2 separate regions of the Homo sapiens genome follow, and region 2 is linked to region 1. The links are contacts of gene promoters, found by promoter capture Hi-C in blood cells and fetal thymus (Javierre and others, 2016). All regions are on one chromosome and are shown on one strand. The core of a region is centred on a gene start or on the middle of the fragment in contact, and the rest is flanking DNA. Distances in the headings are between cores, read along the strand shown.

The links. Contacts are between HindIII fragments. The CHiCAGO score rates a contact against its expected background, and 5 or more counts as called.
Region 2: a fragment that was not itself captured here is called in contact with the fragment with the promoter of AIFM1 in region 1 in 1 of 17 cell types (M0 macrophages); the score reaches 10.6 in M0 macrophages.

Annotation. Positions count from the first base shown.
Region 1 is chrX:130,164,430-130,167,886 of GRCh38, reverse strand. It overlaps AIFM1 (apoptosis inducing factor mitochondria associated 1), which reads left to right and starts at 2,046. Exons shown (of 16, transcript NM_004208.4): 1 at 2,046-2,336. The coding sequence starts at 2,231. It also overlaps a transcript of RAB33A not described here. RefSeq lists an enhancer at 2,058-2,397. The HindIII fragment of the contact is 8,785 bases long and covers 1-3,457 here.
Region 2 is chrX:131,811,351-131,814,512 of GRCh38, reverse strand. The region is part of intron 2 of FIRRE (firre intergenic repeating RNA element); the gene reads left to right. Among named protein-coding and RNA genes, the nearest start is that of FIRRE, 18 kb to the left of the region's middle. RefSeq lists an enhancer at 1,183-1,452. The HindIII fragment of the contact is 418 bases long and covers 1,096-1,513 here.

The DNA of each region.
Region 1 (3,457 bases), core at 797-3,296:
CATTCTCTATCCCCATTCCACCAAAAAAAAAAAAAAAGTAACTTCATTACCTCCAAAGTTAGGGCCCAACTCTTGCCAGTTCAAATCTGGCCCCCCACCATACTTGCCTGTCTTTATCACTACTTCTTTATTTTTTTCTTTTTGGAGACAGAGTCTTGCTCCATCATCCAGGCTGGAGTGCAGTGGCACAATCTTGGCTCACTGCAGCCTCCACCTGGCAGGTTCAAGCGAGTCTCCTGCCTCAGTCTCCCTAGTAGCTGGGATTACAGGCGCATGCCATGGCGCCCGGCTAATTTTTGGATTTTTTGTAGAGACGGGGTTTCACCATGTTGGCCAGACTGGTCTTAAACTCCTGACCTAAAGTGATTCACCCGCCTAGGCCTCCCAAAGTGCTGGGATTACAGGCATGAGCCACGGAGCCTGACCACATCAATACTTCTTAGTATGTACTCTCTATCATTGTCCCCCGAAAATGTGCTGGGTTTTGGTTTTTTAAAACAGTTCCAAGCCTTTTCATTTAACAAACAGCATGGTGCTTCCTCTAAGACACTTTACAAATATTAGCTCATTTAGTCTTCCGAACACCCTCCTGAGATTTGTAGATGAGGAAAATGAGGCACAATTAAGTGACTTGCCCAGGTGGCAGAGCCAGGATTCAATGTGGGTTGGTCTGGATCCAAGGTCAACATGTTTAACAATGAAAAATGTTATCTTTGGTCCGAAAGTATTCACCATCTGAAATATCAATCCTTTTCCTCTACTGTTTGAATTTTACTACTCATCCTTCAAGACACAACTCAAATAACTTCTTACACGAAGTTCTACCATAGTGATTCCATCCCATAGTCTTCTCTCTTGCTCTGTCCGGCACTACACCAGATATTATTTCAATGACCGGTATATGTCATCTCCCCAACTAGACAGTGGCCACTTCCTATATAGATGCTATGTCCAAATAAACCCATTGTAAACTGAAAATATCGTTAAGTCGAAACTGCATTTAATACCCTGATAAACCCATCATAAAGTCAAAAAACCGTAAGTTGAACCATGCTTAAGTCCAGATGCTCCTCGACTGACATGGGGTTAGGTCTCATTAAACCCATCATAAAGTCGAAAAATTGTAAGTCGAACCATTGTGAGGGGTAAGTCGGGGACCATCCGTACTTTTCATACCCAACAGAGCCCCTTTTATAGTACAATCCAAGAGGTAAGTGCTCAATAAATACTTGTTAAATGAATATGTAAGCTGAATCTTTGAAACAGGCACATTGTATGTTCTGCATGCAGCCAAAACATTATTTCCAATTTAGCTTATATCTGGCAGAGTCAAAACACTTATTTACACTCAGCCCCTCACCCTACTCCCATAACTGAAAGTTCTGCTTAGCAGACTTCTCTTCCCAGAAAGTCCGAGAAGCACGAACGCTTTTTGCTAACATCCTGCTCCCAAGCACAGAAACCACAGCAGGAGACTGTGTGTATCTGTAGCACCTGGTATACAGCATCTAGGACACACAACTGAACTAATAAATAAAGGTGACAGGCGGGAAGAAGAGCGCAGAATTACTTGTCCAGGAAACGGGTTGGGTGGGAAAGAGCCGGCAACTGGTAAAAGATGGAAGTACACGCCGGATCTGGGAAGCCAGGTTCCGCGCCTCGGACTCATGGAAAAACTGGATCTGGATCACTGCAAAAGAATCAGGAAGGCTTCGGTATCAAGTAACTGGTGTCCTAAAACCAAAAAACAAAGTGCGATGCCGGGGCTACGCTGTTGTGAGATGCTGTTATCAGTTCTCGTCACCAACACAGCGGCAGCACCAGGCACAACCGCCAATCAAAGCGGCCCCACGAGTCCCTCCTTGAACAGGTTCCTTAACTCGTTCAGTCCAACACTGTGCCACAAACTCGCGAAAACCGGCTACCTAGAGCCAGCGTCTTTGCGAGCTTGCGGCCAGCTAGTGCATGCGCAAATCCTCTCGCCGTGCGGACCAATCGCAATGCGGCAGCGAGTGCTACGCCTGCGCAGTAGGCCTCCGGTCGCCGTTCCCCTTCCCCGGCTCTAGCAGGCCGGCTTCTCTGTCCAATGCCCACCCGGAGCTGGGAGGAGGAGTCTGCGTAATGTGCGTGTGAAGAGACTGGGGGAGCTGGCCGGGGCTCACGGTGTTTGACCCGTCGGTCGTGCGTGAGAGGAAAGGGAAGGAGGAGGTCCCGAATAGCGGTCGCCGAAATGTTCCGGTGTGGAGGCCTGGCGGCGGGTGCTTTGAAGCAGAAGCTGGTGCCCTTGGTGCGGACCGTGTGCGTCCGAAGCCCGAGGCAGAGGAACCGGCTCCCAGGTGACTGACCCATTCCAGGCAACCTCCAAGTCCGAGGGCCTGGCGCCTTAGGCTCCCTGTGCCTTGCAGCCCTCTACCCCCGCGTCCCCGCGAGAAACTTAACACATAGTCACGTGAATTCCAAATTGGCAGACTCCGAACCCTGAGTCTTGCAAGCGGAGGAATTGGCTCAGCCATGCCGACCTGACCTTCAAGAGATTTGAACCCAGTAGTCGGCTTGAGGCCTTTTCCCGGGAGCGTTTGCTGTTCAGGGATCCCAGAACAACTGGCTGTCGGCGCCTCCCCGGCATCCCCACCCCCCACCCCCCTTTTTAGAGCAATGAGGTCAAGTAGACTTTGTCATTTACCGATTGAGACTTTAAACAGGACGTTTAAGCCCTACGCCTAAGTTTCTTGTGTAAATGAGGGTGTTATCTGCTCAGCCTTCCAAACCACAGATGAGATCCATGGATTTGAATGCCCAGTGAAACAGAAACGGTGCAGGGCAAGTAAGGAGTCGGTTGGTTGTGTACCAGACACCCAGAGAATTGGCCCAGACTTAATTGGAGATGCCTGAGCCGTGTACTTCTTGGTGGTCTTTAAGGCTTCAAAGAAACAGTTTGCAGAACGCATTGTATTTTGTTCTCCATTAAGTTGTTTCATCAAATTTTAGAGCTGGAAGGGATTTTGTGGTAAAGGTCAACCCACTCATTTTATAGATAATAAACTGAGGCACAGAGAGGTGAAATTACTTGCCAAAGGTCACATAGTTAATTAATAGGTAGAGCTAAGGATAGTTTGCTAGCCTCCAGGTCCTTAATCCCTTCGCTGCAACTCCATACTGCTTCCTAAAGTTGACCTCAAAAAGTTAAGAATGAATTCGGGTCTCTTCCCAGTAATTAGCCCATTGTACATCAGATATCCGTGAATTTATCTGAGCATGGCTTGAGCCTGCTTCTTTTCGTACTGCGTTACTTCATGGGGGCAATGAATGATCCACCTGTAGGAGTTGCTTTGAAAAAAAAATCAGTAATCCTTCAATGTCCACCCCTAGGGCATTTGCAATGTCAGAAGTTATCCTTGAGGCTTTTACAATACAGAAACACCTGGGTGCTTTAAAAATAAAAAGTGGAAAATATTTT
Region 2 (3,162 bases), core at 55-2,554, 1.6 Mb before region 1:
TCAAAACCCAAGGAGATCTGCAAACTATGGGGAAGCCTAAAGTCATACCAACAAACCCATGAGTGTCACACATACACGTACTCATGCAAATATTCAAATGGAATAGATTTAGAAGAGAGCAGAAGAAAGAATATCAAAATACTCATGCTTGTTTTCATGGACTGCTCAGCATTTTCTCTAAAGGATCATGTACAGAGATCATCCCTGGTACGAAAGAGTGGTACTAAAGAGGCAAGTTTTCTGGGGGTCCTGATGTACTCAACTCCCTGAAGGATATCTTGTCAGGCCTACAAGGAATCTTCATCAGAAAAAGGCTAAGGAGCAGGCACAGAGAACAATACTTGCTAATCTTAATGAACAGTTAGATCCTGAGCCTTAAAAGCCTCATCTTCCTTAGAAGAAAGCTAAAGAAACCATTTCTGTCCCATTAAGAGAGATGAAATGAGAGCAGATCCCTCCACGTGGGTATGCCTTCACAATGGACCCTAGAAAAAAATGCTGCAAAGCCACTACAGCTGTTAACTCCTGGGCTCAGAGAATACCTCCAGGCCTTCTGGTTGTGTATATCTGCACTCTTATTGATGTTCTGGAATTTATTGACTTGGCACAGTGACACATGCTCCTTTTCCTCAGATCCTTCTTGCTCTAGGCAACAGAGGCACCAGACTTTTGGTGTCCCTGAGACCTCCAGCTGCTGTTAGATGCCACCTCGAATGAGATTCATTTCCCCCTCCTCACATTCTAACGTTGCTAACATTGGGGCCCATACCCCAAAGTACAGGGATATCTTGTGCCAGCCCAAATGTCTCATGGTCTAAGGGGCAGGGTCAGGAGACCAATGCCCAGAAGCTGTGTGTAGACTGTAGTTTTTCCATAGTCCTGCCCACAGTGAGAGGAAACCAAAGCCCTGCATCAGTCCTGGTACCTTACTTAGCAGCTTCTTCACTGAGATTTTGCCTTTGTCCAGACTGAACTCCTGGAAAGCCTAAGAGTTGAAGTTGAGAAGGCCCATCTTGGGGTCAGGCCCTGTTGAACCTTTGAATTTGCTACATCTTTCTTAACTGCTAGATAGGAGGGAAGTTCAAACCCGAAGCTTTTGCTTTTGTCAAACTACTTCCTCGCGATGGCAGTATGGGCCCAGAAAAGCCAACTAACCCTGCCCCCAGGCCTTCTTCTCCCTCCCATTCCATCTGAAAAAAACCACCACTAACAGGCAAAGCCACCAGGAAATATGGCTACCTTGTGTCTTGCCCAGTTTGAAGAAACTTGCTCACACCGCTGCGCTTTTGCTTTTGCTTTCCATATACAATCAAACTGAAGCCTAAAACCACCCACTCTCATTAGGCATCTTTTCTTTTCAGTAATTCAGTTTCCTCTACTACAGCTTCATAGATCTCCTCATCGGTCACCATTAGATATGCAGGATTTTCCCCATTTTCAAGTTTTCTGATACAAGGTTCAAGTCCCAAGGAGTCCGTGCATGAGGAAAAGATATTGCTGGAACTCCAAAGCTTGTATGAGGCTTGGCTATCTGTCTCCATCAGACGTTGTGGTCTTTGACCTGGCTCATTTCCCAGGCTCTTATGGCGTACTCCATTTTCTGGCTCACATATTTTAGAAAGTAACCAAAATGGCATCCTTCTTTTTAAATGTCTTTCCAGATGGAGAACTCACTAATAAATATTTCAGTTGCTCAAACTTGATGTTCAAAATAAATACTCATATTTAGCTATTATCATTTAAAGACATCAGAGTTAAGCTGTTCCATAGGTTTTGAACTAATATGTTAAAACATTATCAACTTTATCGTATGACCTTTTCTTACACTTTTATATTTTTATGCCTCATATATTCATGTTTTAATTTTCACATACACGATGCTTTGAATGAATAAAGAAACAACACATTTTAAATAATTAATTGGGCAGTTAGGTAGAGAATGTACATTGTGTATCCTCCTTAGATAATTGTATAATTTATTGTCCAAGTTGGACAACTGTGTGAACCGTGACTTCCTAAGGCACACTGAAAGGAATGTTCACCCTATTTATCATTCCACAGTCTTGAGACAAACACTGATCACATCTTTATGCTTTATTTACCTAAATATATTGATAATTTTTTTTTTTTGAGATGGAGTTTCGCTCTTGTTGCCCAGGCTGGAGTGCAATGGCACAATCTCAGCTCACCGCAACCTCCGCCTCCCAGGTTCAAGCGATTCTCCTGCCTCAGCCTCCCTAGTAGCTGGGATTACAGGCATGTGCCACCACACTCGGCTAATTTCGTATTTTTTTTTAGTAGAGATGGGGTTTCCCCATGTTGGTCAGGCTGGTCTCAAACTCCCGACCTTAGATGATCTGCCCGTCTCGGCCTCCCAAAGTGCTGGGATTACAGGCATGAGCCACCGTGCCCGGCCTTTTTTTTCTATTTTTGAGACAGAGCCTTGCTCTGCCACCCAGGCTAGAGAGCAGTGACGCAATTTCGGCTCACTGCAACCTCTTGCTTCCTGGGTTCAAGTGATTCTCCTGCCTCAGCCTCCCAAGTAGCTGGGATTACAGGCGTGTGCCACCGTGACCAGCTAATTTTTATATTTTTAGTAGAGACGGAGTTTCGCCATGCTGGCCAGGCTGATCTCGAACTCCTGACCTCAGGTGATTGGCCCGCCTTGGCCTCCCAAAGTGCTGGGAGTACAGGTGTGAGCCAGTGCGCCTGGCCGATAAATTTTAATTTGTATATACACATACATGTTTACAAAAATTGGGCATTGTCCTGCATATTTTTTCTTTTATACTTTTTCTCTTGGTTATAGTATGAGCATTTTGACAGTTGTACTTTAGTTATCCAAAAGTATAATTTAAAAATATGAAAATAGCTATTTATTTATAAGAAATAGAAATATTTTTATTTATATAAATATTTATAAGTAGAAATATTTAAAATTAAAAGTAATAGACTCAATACAGAATATTTAGAAAATATGGAATTCAGATAAGTGAACACAAAATGACCTATCGTATTACTATAATCTGTATGTATTTTTTCTTTAAACACCAATTGCATAATAGCGTATGTTGGATTTTTTTCCCTGATATTTCTATTTTCTCCTCTTTAATCCACTCTTCATTTTTCTCTACTTCTCTGTGTATCAAATGGCTAATCTGT